Linked DNA regions of Homo sapiens: region 2 is linked to region 1. The links are contacts of gene promoters, found by promoter capture Hi-C in blood cells and fetal thymus (Javierre and others, 2016). All regions are on one chromosome and are shown on one strand. The core of a region is centred on a gene start or on the middle of the fragment in contact, and the rest is flanking DNA. Distances in the headings are between cores, read along the strand shown.

Evidence for each region. The method cuts DNA at HindIII sites, captures the fragments that hold promoters and counts their contacts. A CHiCAGO score of 5 or more calls a contact.
Region 2: a contact is called between the fragment with the promoter of SIGLEC1 here and a fragment that was not itself captured in region 1, in 2 of 17 cell types (megakaryocytes and endothelial precursors). The highest score is 9.6, in megakaryocytes.

What each region holds. Positions count from the first base shown.
Region 1 is chr20:3,561,478-3,568,272 of GRCh38, reverse strand. It overlaps ATRN (attractin), which reads right to left. Exons shown (of 29, transcript NM_139321.3): 9 at 5,814-5,997; 10 at 4,910-5,064; 11 at 2,841-2,925. Among named protein-coding and RNA genes, the nearest start is that of ATRN, 94 kb to the right of the region's middle. The HindIII fragment of the contact is 1,815 bases long and covers 3,534-5,348 here.
Region 2 is chr20:3,708,772-3,715,566 of GRCh38, reverse strand. SIGLEC1 (sialic acid binding Ig like lectin 1) reads left to right here and starts at 2,967. Exons shown (of 22, transcript NM_023068.4): 1 at 2,967-3,097. The HindIII fragment of the contact is 9,565 bases long and covers 1-6,795 here.

The DNA.
Region 1 (6,795 bases), core at 3,192-5,691:
TTGCCCAGGCTGGAGTGCAGTGGCGCGATCTCAGCTCACTGCAAGCTCCACCTCCTGGGGTTCACATCATTCTCCTGCCTCAGCCTCCCGAGAAGCTGGGACTACATGCGCCCGCCACCACGCCCAGCTAATTTTTTTGTACTTTTAGTAGAGATGGAGTTTCACAGTGTTAGCCAGGATAGTCTTGATCTCCTGACCTCGTGATCCACCCGCCTCGGCCTCCCAAAGTGCTGGGATTACAAGCGTGAGCCACTACGCCCGGCCAGGTTTCATTTTTTACCTTGCTATAGGCTTACTCAGTACCACATTAAGCAGGCTAGATTCAACTAGTTAATTTGTTGCTTAAACCAAATAAGCAACCTCCTCTTCCCAGTACAGTTGGTGTTCTCAGCAATTGTGAATCCATCTGGTTGCACAGGGGCTCTGCAAAGTTAGGGAGAGTCTCTCAGAGACACATGGAGCAGGCAACTGAGAGGCACAGCTGCATCTCCTGCCGCCTTGGTATGTCACAGCCATCTCTCCTCCTCCTTCCTGCCTCCCTCAAAACCTCAATGAAAACCAAGGAAGGCACAGCTCACCCAATGCTGTTGATCCACTTAAAGCATGAAGAAATGCTGTGAATCGAAGTTTCTTTTTCAGTAAATTATTTCATAAAATTAAACCAAAACTATGGCCTTTTAGTAGCTGGCCTCCCTCAGGGTCTCCTGCCACCTACCCAATCCTGTCTCACACACACAGATACTTACATATCAGGGTTCAAACATACCACTGGAATCACATAAAATGAAAACATTACAACTCAGGCAAGGCATTCCCAATTTTGACTCATGATTAAATTATATTTTATGGTAAAGTCTCAACTTCTCTGAGTTTGAATAAAACCTAAGAATGTTTTATAAAAAATTCATTTGTTTGCTAGTTATGACTGTACTAATACCTGCCATTTAGCAAATGTCTATTATGTGCCAAATCCTGTGCTAGGAGAACTAGGAACACAAACGAAGACAGTTGAGGCCAGGCTCCCACAGGCATGATAATGACAAAATGGTCCCACTGCGTTTCAGATGAAAATCTCAAGAGGCACTTGCTAGAAAGCTTTAAGGGTCTTCTGTACTGAGGAAGTTCAAGATTATGATTTATAATAACACTTCAAATTAGCAAGGTGGCCAGAAATCCTTCCATTTTAGTCTCTAGCTGTCAAATGTTCTCATAGTAAAACCATACACATTGCTAAAAAACGAAATAATTACCTTATATAAGATAGCACCTTTTCCTAGTAGCTAGTTCCTAAATTGTCTCAACTCTTCCTTCACAACATCTCCAAAATATGTCACCTTCTCACTTTTCCTTTTTTTTTTTTTTTTTTTTGAGATGGAGTCTCGCTGTCGCCCAGGCTGGAATGCAGTGGCATAATCTTGGCTCACTGCAATTTCCGCCTCCTGGGTTCAAGTGATTCTCCTGCCTCAGCCTCCCAAGTAGCTGGGACTACAGGTGCCTACCACCACACCTGGCTAATTGTTTTGTATTTTAGGAAGAGACGGGGGTTTTGCCATGTTGACCAGGGTGGTCTGGAACTCCTGGGCTCAAGTGATCGGCCCTCCTCGGCCTCCCAAAGTGCTGGGATTACAGGCGTGAGCCACCGTGCCCGGCCTCTCATCTTTCCTAATCTAAGTGAAATTACCTCATCTGTCTTCCATCGTTACAACAGAAATTTCAAAAGCCAAAGGAATTCTAACATGATGCAGGCATTATAACGCTTAAACATCCTTAGGATTTATATGGCTTAGAATTTTAAAAAAGGGAAAGTAGACAGCAGTAGTAATAGCAGAAACTGAATGAGAAAAATTAATAATGTGATTAGGCTGTTTAACTTCTTAAAAATCTTTAAAGCACACTGTAAGGAACAAGTAGAGTGGCCACTCTGAATCTCCCTTATTTGACTGAGACTTCTCCAAGGGCCGATTTTTTGAAGAGCTCTGGTAGTTTGGGCCAGGCATTTTTGAGCGATAAAATGCAATGAACTGCAGACTTCTGATTATCCAGAGCCTACAGACTTGAGCTATATTAAACTTCACAATCTCTCCACCTCTGTTCTCCTACCTTATCCCCCCATCTGAAGTGCCCTCTCTCCTCTTTTCCAAACTTCTTACTATTCAGATACAACTACTAGGAACTTGACAACCTAAATACCACTAACAATAACAAAGGACATAAGACAATGACATGCACGTAACTTTTGTTGCCCCAGGCACTCAGACCACACCAAAAAGCATGCTCTTGCGTGCTAACAAAACCAGATCAATAAACATGGCATTCAAAGTAATTCACCTCCACATCAAATATTTTAAACATAAATCAGAAAATTTATACCCACATAATCCTGTAAAAAAACTACTGGGATGAGGGAATCTTGTGAATAATATGTTGAGTCCAATTCCACTTTACTTTTCTCTTTTTTTTTTTTTTTTTTTTTTTTGAGACAGAGTCTTGCTCTGTTGCCAGGCTGGAGTGCTGTGGCGCGATCTCGTCTCACGGCAACCTCCAACTCCCTGGTTCAAGTGATTCTCCTGCCTCAGCATCCCTCGTTCAAGCGATTCTCCTGCCTCAGCCTCCCAACTAGGGGGGATTACAGGCACGCACTACCAAGCCCAGCTAATTTTTGTACTTTTAGTAGAGATGGGTCTTTACCATGTTGGCCAGGATGGTCTTGATCTCCTGACCTCGTATTCCACCCGCCTCGGCCTCCCAAAGTGCCAGAATTACAGGCGTGAGCCACCGTGCCCGGCCCTTTATTTTCATTTTAAACACAAAAGAAAAGGAGCAATCACTTCTCCAATTACCTGTTGTGTAAGACTGCTGAATGGCCAAATCTGTTGACATCATGGTGGAGATCAGGTCTGGGAAGCACTGACCAGCGGTCACAGGCTAGGAGAAAGAAAAATATATTTTTAAACGGACTACCATTTCTAATCAACAGGACCTGACATTTTCTTTGGGAAAAATACTACAACAAAGAGAACCTCATAAAACATGCCTCTCAATTTTCTCAGTTACAACATCATTTCTGGGTTAAAATGAAGCAGCAGCAGAGCAACAGGGCATGGAAGAAAGGCGGGATCATACCACAATTCTAACTAGCAAACGCACCCGAAATCCATGACATCTGGATCACTCACCCAACTGCCTATCAGTTTGATGCACTAGAATTGAGACAGAGTCTCGCTCTGTCACCCAGGCTGGAGTGCAGTGGTGTGATCTCAGCTCACTGCAAGCTCCTCCTCCCAGGTTCACGCCATTCTCCTGCCTCATCCTCCCAAGTAGCTGGGCCTATAGGCGCCTGCCACCATGCCTGGCTAATTTTTTTTATTTTTAGTAGAGATGGGGTTTCACCGTGTTAGCCAGGATAGTCTCAATCTCCTGACCTCGTGATCTGCCCACCTGGGCCTCCCAAAGTGCTGGGATTACAGGCATGAACCACCACGCCCAGCCAAGAATGTTTTTTAAAGCAAGCAAATTTTACATTCTACAAAGCTTATGTCAGCAAAACATGGGTTTCATAATTATTTTCCACTCTTTTCTATATTGATTTGCTCAAATTTAGTAGCTAAAATGGAAAAATAAAGGTGGAAAATGAAATTTCAAGAAATTTAAATGTCACCTAATTTTTACAAAGTCCTTTCCTAGATCCCATAGATTGATTAATTTTCCCTTGTTGTGACCCATACTAGCAACTTCTCTTCTGGATCTAATACCAACTGGTGCTGCTATACCATGCCAACCTCACACTCAGTGTCTCACTCTTTGAGCCCTTAAATATGTGCCGGTCTTTTCCACCTCTGTGTCTCTGCAAACTGGGTTTCCTCTGCCTGGAGAGTGCTGCCTAACTTCACCTACCTGACACCTAGTGTCCCCAAGGACCCAGAGAGGATGGCCCCTCCTTAAGAAAGTGTTCCCTGTTTATCACTCTACCCTCCATGACTTAAAGGGTACTCAGAGGTGCTCTCATACATTCTTTTCAGCCAGAAACACCCTGAAGTGCAATTCTATTGTCTGCTCATTTCTCTACCTCTTCTACTTTGAGGCTAAGGGCTTTAAGTTATTCATCTGATCTCCTCAATGTACAAACTGAGTGGCTGGCACACAAATGTCTGTTAAAAACGAATGTCTGACTTGGAATAGTCAAAATCACAGAGACAGACTGTAGAATAGTGGTTGCCAGGCATTGTGGGGAGGAAGAAATGGGACATTATTGTTTAATGGGTATACAGCTTCAGTCTTACAAGATGAAGACAGTTCTGAAGATGGATGGCGGTGATGGATTTATAACATTATGAATGTGTTTAGTATCACTAAACTAGACATTTAAATATAGTTAGGATGGTAAATTTTATGTGTATTTTACCACAATCAAAAAAATAATAATTTGTTTAAAATGAACATCTGACAATTTTTATGAAAGAGATCATCCGGTATGCATTTGCTTTGCATGAACAAATACTGCCCTCTTCTGGTCTGGTATATTGCCACACCAAGACCATGTGAGAAACCAGTTTTCTAGGGAATGAGATAAAGCTAATACGTGAACCAATTTTAACACAATGCTGGTGGTTGCAACTATGTAACACTACCAGGTAGGCATAACATGACAAAGGAGAGACTAGACACCTCAACTCAGCCTTAAAAATTAGCATTCAAGCAATTAACAGGAGTGATTTCAAAAAGAATTTAATGTAGAAATAATTTTTACCAGATGTGTAACATTAGTCAAATGAATATAAAAAATACCATTTGGACCTCTTTCAAATGGCCTGATCATTTTGAACTGGCAATATTTTCAGTCTCCTTTTAAATGCTGCTTATAGTATAGGCAAAAAGATGCCTGAAGAGAAAATGGTTTTGGGAAACTTACCAATGTCATAGGCCATGAAATCTGAAGAGAAGCATTTGGCGCCATGGCTCATAGATGTGTCATTGTGTGTGTTTCCTCCAAACACCAGCATGGTTCCACTCACTATCACAGCTGTGTGCAAGTAACGGAAAAATCGGCTGTCCTTAAGAATGGTCCTTTTGAGTTTATTTAGAAATAATAAATACAAGGTTAGTTTTTAAAGAATATTTATGTATCTGCTAATGCAAGCACAACCACTTTATTAACCTCAGACCCAAATGTACAAATCCTTCCAGAGTTTTCCCTACATAAAAGTAAGTTTTTCAACAATAAATACAGATAATTTTAAAGACCTGTAAGAGTTTTGGCAAAATATATTAAGAACCTTAAACTCTTCATACCCCGTAGCTATATAATTCCAGTTTCTGGGCAGAAATCATGTGAAATATTGACAGAAGCTTAATGCATAATGGTTTCTTAATGACATAAAAACTAGAAAGAAACCAAAACTTTCACCTGCATAGTCTCAGCATACCCACAAAATGGAGTATTGCACAGCTACTAAAAATGATTATTTTTATGACAGAATATAAAACAGTACCCATAGCAAGGTATCAAACATGTGAGGAAAAAGAGGAGAAACCATCGCTTTATAATTACATTATTTCGTAACTCAAATTTGCTTTACATTTGTTAAAAAACTCTAAGTATTTTCTAACCAACCTGCTACAGAATTACAGAATAACGTAACAAAATAAATACTAGCTACTTTATTACCCTCTGTTTATTTCCCAATTTCTCTATATATAATGCCGAACAGAATTATCTGCCAGGCATGAAAACAAAAAGATAGCACAATATTTTCTCCACAATTGCCTCTACAGAATTTACACCTTAAAGTGAAAGCTCAAGAAAAAGTACCCACCACATCTGGGTATCCACATCATATCGGTAGAGATCATCTGCAAGCCGGTACTTATTGGCACTGAAAGCCTTGTAGCCACCATGAACGTATAGGGCCCTGGTCCTATGGTCGTAAACACTGCTATGGCCGTAACCCCCTTGCACAAGGGCACCCTGGGTGTGTAATATACTCCATGTGTTCTTATCTGGAAAGGAAAGACAGTTAAAGGCAAGCATGGCAGGCTCCTCCTCTCTACTACTGAAAATGTCCAAAGAGCTTAGGGCATGAGAATGGATTTCAGGAGACCTGATACATATACTTTTTTATCTTTATATTTTAAAGAAAGCCACCTAAAACTTATAACAAAGCCATGTGGCCCAATTCCAGTCTGTTCTATGTTCTGATGTTCTAATATGCCATGTAGGAAAAGAATTAACTAAATTTAAAACACTCAGGGCCAGGCGAAGTGGCTTACATGTGTAATCCCAGCACTTTGGGAGGCTAAGGTGGGAGGATCACTTGAGGCCTGCTATGTTGGCCAGCCTGGGCAACATAGCAAGATCCCATCTCTACTAAAATTAAAAAATTAGCCAGGAGTGGTGGCACGCACCTGTAGTCCCAGCTACTAGGGAGGCTAAGGTGGGAGGATCACTTGAGGACAGGGCATCAAGGCTGCAGTGAGCTATGATTGTGCCACTGCACTCCAGCCTGTGTGAGAGAACAAGAGCCTGTCTCAATAAATAAAATGTTCACTCAAATGAACATTTAATTCCCTACAACCTTTGGTGACCAATATACAGATATATTTTATAGGCCTACTTTCACAAAATGTTAATTATACCTGGTATTCCTACTGCACAACAACAGATACAATGAAATTTAACCAAGGGAAATATTTCATATTAAGGGTAAATCATACTCCACTAAACCAATCTCTAAAGGGCTGGGCAAATATTTTTTTTCTTCAATATTTATTGTTTTGAACCATTTTTATTTATTTATT
Region 2 (6,795 bases), core at 1,718-4,217, 150 kb before region 1:
GCACTTTGGGAGGCCAAGGTGGGTGGATCACTTGACTGGGAACTCTCAGGAGTGTGAGACCAGCCTGGGCAACATGGTGAAGCCCCATCTCTACAAAAAAATACAAAAATTGGCTGCGTCTGGTGGTACTCACCTGTAGTCCCAGCAACTTGGGAGGCTGAGGCAGGAGGATCACTTGAGCCTAGGAGGTCAAAGTTGCAGTGAGCCGAGATTGTGCCATTGCACTCCAGCCTGTCCAGCCTGGGTGACAGTGAGACCCTATCTCCAAAAAAAAAAAAAAAAAAGAAAAAGAATAATTGTTATTAGATGAATGTGTAACAGTGTGACCTACTGAGAAATTACATTTTTTAAAATATTTTGAGGCAGAGTCTCGCTCTGTCATCCAGGCTGGAGTGCAGTAGTGTGATCTCGGCTCACTGCAATCTCCACCTCCCGGGTTCAATCGATTCTCGTGCCTCAGCCTCCTGAGTAGCTGAGACTACAGGCGCCTGCCACCAGGCCCAGCTAATTTTTGTATTTTTCGTAGAGACAGGGTTTCGCCACGTTGACCAGGCTGGTCTTGAACTCCTGGCCTCAAGCGATCTGCCCACCTCGGCCTCCTAAAGTGCTGAGATTACAGGCGTGAGCCACCGTGCCCAGCCTACCTAGTTATTTTTATTTATTTACCTAGTTTGCTGTATACTCAAGGAAATGACAGGAAGCAGTGCTCCCTGACTAATCAAGGTAGACAAGTCTTTGCTCTCCTCATGCTAAGGAAAGGTAAGCAAGTTCTGGGTGTGTTGTTCTGGGACTTAGGCCTTGTATCATCTTGCTAATGTAGCCACAAAATTCTCAGCAGCATCCAGCAATAAATTCACGCATCCACAGGTTGACTGGTCTGGTGGACGTAGGCTGGGCTCAGCTGAGTTTTGTTTCAATCCATGGGTCTGATTCAGGTCATCTGCATGTGTTCGTCATCCTCTTTGGACCAGCAGGTTAGTTGGAGCCTGCCCCTTGCATGGCAATGACAGAAATTCAGGGGGAAAGGCAAACTGCTTAAGTACGTTTCAAGACTTAGTTTGTGTCATGTCCGTGCACATCCATTGGCCAGAGCAAGTCATATGACTAAGGTCAAAGTCAAGGGATGCTTTCCCACCATGAAGCCAAGGGGTGGATGTATAGAGTCCCAGTGGACTGAAGGATTGGTACCCATGTGTCACAACCCCACAGGCCTAGAGCTGGGTGTCTCCGGACCAGCTGTTGAGGGAGGAAGTAATGGGATGAACCCTTTGTGTTTTGGCCGAAAGAGGAAATGGCCCAAGCATAGGAGTGGACACAGGAGCTATAAAGAGGAACAGAGTGATAGAGACCTAATATCTCTGTAGCCTGAGCATTTCAGGGTGGAATGTCACCAGACATCTGCTTTGGGGCACCATGGCCTGCGATTCTGGATCCACCCTGATTTAGGGTTTCACATCCTTTTACACCTGCACACGTGGCCTTGCCCTCAGGGTACAGGGGCCTAATTTGCTGTGGCCAGCTCCCCACCAGTACAGGTAGGCAGGGACTGAGTTGAATTAAGTTTGAGTTGTGAAATTAAAAAAAAAAATGGCCAGGAGTGGTGGCTTACGCCTGTAGTTCCAGCACTTTGGGAGGTCGAGGTGGGAGAGTCACTTGAGCCCAGGTGTTTGAGACCAGCCTGGGAACATAGGGAGACTCCGTCTCTACAAAATAACTTAAAAAATTAGCCGTGCATAGTGGCAAGCGCCTGTAATCCCGGCTTCTTAGGAGGCTGAAGCAGGAGGATTGCTTAAGCCTAGAATTTCGAAGCTGCAGTGAGCCAAAGTGAGCCAAGATTGCACCAGGACACCCCAGCCTGGGCGACAGAGCAAGACACTGTCTCAAAAAACAAAAACAAACAAACAAACAAAAACCAAAAAAAGTCTTGTTGCTTGTATCTGGGATTGCTTGGAGCAATTAACATCTGCTTCACATGTCAAGTGCCTGCACAAACTAGGCCCTCAATAAGATGGGCTGCAGTAATGTAACAGTAACTAGCTGTGGTGGGGGCTTTCCTTTCCTGTCCCAAGGTGGGGGTGAAGGTATAGGATAGTGGCCGGGTGCAGCGGCTCACCTCTGTAATCCCAGAACTTTGGGAGGCCGAGGCAGGCAGATTACTTGGGGTCAGGAGTTCAAGACCAACCTGGACAACATGGTGAAACCCCGTCTCTACCAAAAATACAAAAATTAGCCGGATGTGGTGGTGCATGCCTGTAATCCCAGCTACTCGAGAGGCTGAGGCAAGATGATCACTTGAACTCGGGAGGTGGAGGTTGCCGTGAGCTGAGATTGTGCCACCGCACTCCAGCCTGGACGACAGAGTGAGACTCCATCTCAAAAGCAAAAACAAAACAAAAAGAAAAAAACCAACAACAAGAAGCCAAAAACCAAAAAACGTACAGGACAGTGAGAGGGGAAAGAGAAAACCTGAGGAGTGTCCTGGACATTGGGGCCTTATGTCCCCCACAACACGGGACTGCCTCTTGGGGGTTCTTAAGAGTACTCAGTGGTACAGGGAGGCTCCTGAATGGCTTGGAGAATAACTGCCTTGGTCTGGGCATCGTGTAGTGCATCCCCACCCCAGGCTGGGCGCGCCTCCCTCTCAGGTGTCAGGGAGGAGAGCTGTGTGCAGGAAGCCCCCTTCCACCTCCCCCAGCCTCCCTAAGGGGCTCAGAGAGAGTGGGGTGTGGATTTGGCTGGTGAATGGGAGTCCCCCACTCCATTTCTCACTTTGCCTGGGGAGGCTCCAGCGTTGCAGCGGTCCCACTTCTGCTTGCTGGAGTCCCTAAGTCCCTGGCCTTGCCGAGGGCCTTCCCCTATGGAGGTCTTTCCCGTTTTGGCATTGCGCAAGGCCTGCAGCTGCCTCCCTGACCAGCCTCTGGGTTGGACAGTAGAGCTGAGGCTTTGGGAAAGAGGAAGCAGCCCCTGATACGGGATCCTTCTCTCTTGAGCCGGCAGAGCCCTGGGGAGCCAGCTGCACCAGGAGCTCTTGGCCGTCCTTCCTGTTCTCCTCTCCGCAGGTCCAGCACCGCCGCAGCCACTTCCTTCTGTGGAGCAGGTACCCCTGTCCCTGGTCCCTGGGCCCAGAGGGTGAGTGGAGCATTAGGAGCGGGGCTGGGCTGAAACTGGCTGAGCGGGATAGGGGCAGGGGTCGGGGGGGGGCTCCATCTGGGTGCGAGTGGTGGACCCCAAACCAACCCAAGTCCAAGACACTAATCAAAGATGGACTCAACTGAAACCCTTCCACCACCCCCAAATCCTTCCAACCTGCATCCCAATCCCAGTCCCGACCATCACCCTGCTCTGACCCTACCTCAGCCCCAGCCCCAGCCCCTATTCCAACCTTATCTCACCCTCACCTCACTTGCACCCCAACCCTAACCATTTACTCATCTCATCTAATCCCAACCATCCATCATCCCAACCCTAACCACAACTCCGACTCTATCATCCTCATCTCAACCCAGCCTCCACCGTATCTTAACCATCACCTGCACCCAACTCCAACCTTCACCCTTACCCCCACCCATCACTCAACCTCAATGTCCACCCCAATCCCAGCCTTAATTTGCTTCCAGAATTCCAACCTGATCATCACCCTGACCTCAGCCCCAGCCCAGCCCAACGATAATCTCTCCTTACTCTAACCCCAGCACAATTCCACTTCATCCATCACCACTTCGTCCGTCCACAGGAGGGCTTCTGGTGCTGTCCAGCACAGTTTGGAGAGTGAGCACTCCAGCCAGAAGCATTTAGAGCCAGATTAAGGAATGAAGTGTGAAATTTCTACTGCCCATGTCAAAGCCAATAAGCATTAGTTATGGATTCTATGGCTCTGAGAATTAAACATTTGGCCTGTGATTGGGGATTTCCACTATTTTGACCATAATCTGCTCCAGGAATTGCCCATCCGTACCCTGACTCCCTATCTGTGGGCCAGTAACCTCCAGCTGGCCATGTCACCCTGTGTTCTTCCTTCTCTAGCCCAATGGGGAAGTTGGGGAGAAGCCTTGGTGTCAGGAAACAGAAACTGAATCCTACACCCGGGCCTAGCTGTCCATAGGGAAACTGCCTCTGCCCTTTCTTCCCCAGCTAAACTTGGCCTCTGGAATCAGAGGTCAGGGACTTGGGGCCCCAGCCAACCCTCCAAGACCTCCTGAGGCACTTGGTCTCAAACAGGCAGCAAACGTGAGTGCCCACTGTGTACCAGGCCAGCTCAAGCCACCCTGATGCAACACATACCAATAGTAGGAGTGGGGATTTAAAATCCTGTCTTCAGAGCACCCAAGACTTGGAGACCCAAGTATGAACCTCAGGAACCTCCTGTCTGGGGAACAATGATTTCCAAAAGAGTCACCCAAGGGAGGGATGGTTCAGGGCTGCAGAGCTGCCTGCTCCCTGTTGCTGGCACACCGCCCCCTTTCCCGGGACCCGCAATTCCCCCTCGACCACCAGGGGGCGCTGCGTGCTCACTAGGCCACAGCTGCAACCCAAGTTGCGGGGGGCGGGGGGCGGGGCACTGTCCCCTCAACTCCAGGCTTTCAAACAGGGACAGAGATCTCCTTTCTGAGCGGTCCCTGCTCTTTCTGTTTCCAGAACAGTTATCTGGGCTGAAGCTGGCCTTTGTGGTGACAGGCTGAGCCAATAGGCTGGATTCCGGTGGGGCTGACCCCTTTGGGGTTAGGGCCGGGCTAAGCATAGGTGGCCTCTACATTATGTGATGGGAGTGGTCCTGGAAAGGGTCCTCCCCCGCGCCCTGTTCCAGGGTCGCTGTGTCCAGAACCCCACCATTCTTCCATCAGGTTCACGATTGCCCTTTTCAGGACCCCAAATGGGAGGAACAGGGGAGCTGGGACAAGATAGCTGCCCTGGCCATAGCAGAGCTGACCCTGACATCCCCTGTGGCCAGGGACACATCTGACCCCCAGTGTGCCCAGCAGGCTGCTTTTCTTCACGGTGAGGTGTCCAGGTCCCAGGGCCCCAGCTATATCATTCTCCAGTGGCCAAGAACCTGGTGTGGAGGCTGGGGGTGCATCTTCCCAGAAGAGGAGGAGGCCTAGGGCTTCCTAGAGAACTGGAGATGAGCCCTTGGGCCTCCATAAATGGCCAGATCAGTCCACTCCAGCAGCCTGCGAGAGGGCTGGGTCCCCTGGGGAGCGGTGTCCTTCCTGTCCCAATCCCGCCCTGTACTGTGCCCCCTGCTGGGGCACCTTCTGCCTTCTGCAGCAGGCTAAGTCCCACCTGGTCAGCCTGACTGGCCCTGGGCCTCGGCTCACCCCCTTCCCAGGTGTGACCCCTGGTAGTCATTGGAATCTGCTGAGCCCAGCCCCTGAGGCGGATGGGCTGGGAGCTGGGAGGTCATGAGTTTCCTGTCCCCACTTCCAGCCTCCTCGTTCACTTGGCCAAGTCAGCATTTAGGACCAGGGAGGATTGCAAAGTTGGCAACATGGGTGTGTATGTGGTGAAATATACATAATGTAAAATTTACTGTTTTAACTGTCTTTAAGTGTACACCCCATGACATTAGGTACATTTGCAATATTGTGTAACCATCACCACTATTTCCAGAACTTTTTCATTATCTGAGAGACTCAGCAATCATTAAACATTAGCTCCCCCTCCCTGCAGCCCCTGGTTACCTCTATCCTATTCTACTTTCAGTCTCTGAATATACGTAGTCTAGATATTTCATGTAATTGGAACCCTACAATATTTGCCCTTTTGTGTCTGGCTGGTTTCACTGAGCATAATGTTTTCAAGGTTCACATATGTTAGAATTCATTCCTCCTTATGGCCGATTGATATTCCATTGTATGTACATACCACAGTTTGTTTATCCACATCCATTCACTGATGGACACTTGACCTGTTTCCACCTTTTAGTGGAATAGTGCTGCCGTGAACATTGGTGTACTCTGTTAGAGTCCCTGTTTTCAGTACTTTTGGGTATATACCTAGGAGTGGAATTGCTGGATCATATGGTAATCCTATGTTGACTTTTTGAGGAATGACCCAATTGTTTTCCACAGTGACGGAACCATTTTATATTCCCACCAGCAATACACAAGAATTTCAACTTCGCATCCTCACCAATATTTATTGTTTTCTGTGTTGCTTTGTTTGTTTGTGAATAGCCATTCTAACGGATGTGAAGTGGTATCTCACTGTGGTTTGGTTTTGATTTGCATTTCCTAATGCCTAGTGATGTTGAGCATCTTTTCATGTCCTTATCAGCCAGTTATATATCTTCTTTGAAGAAATGTTTATTCAAGTGTTTTGCCCATTTTTGGAGTTGGATTTCATGGTTTTTTTGGTGGTTGTTGTTGTTCATTGTAGGAATTCTTTATATATTCTGGATATTAGTCCTTTATCAGATAAATGATTTACAAATATTTTCTCCCATTCTGTGGGTTGTCCTCCTTTTATTCACTCTCTGGATAGTGTCCTTTGATTCATATCCTTTTTTTTTTTTTTTTTTTTTGAGACAGAAGAGTCTCACTCTGTCACCAGGCTGGAGTACAGTGGCGTGATCCTGGCTCACCGTGACCTCCGCCTCCTGGGTTCAGGTGATTCTCCTGCCTCAGCCTCCCGAGTAGCTAGGACTAGAGGTGCACACCACCACACCCAGCTAATTTTGTATTTTTAGTAGAGACGGGGTTTCACCATGTTGGCCAGGATGGTCTCAATCTCTTGACCTTGTGATCTGCATGCCTCAGCCTCCCAAAGTGCTGGGATTACAGGCGTGAGCCACCGCAC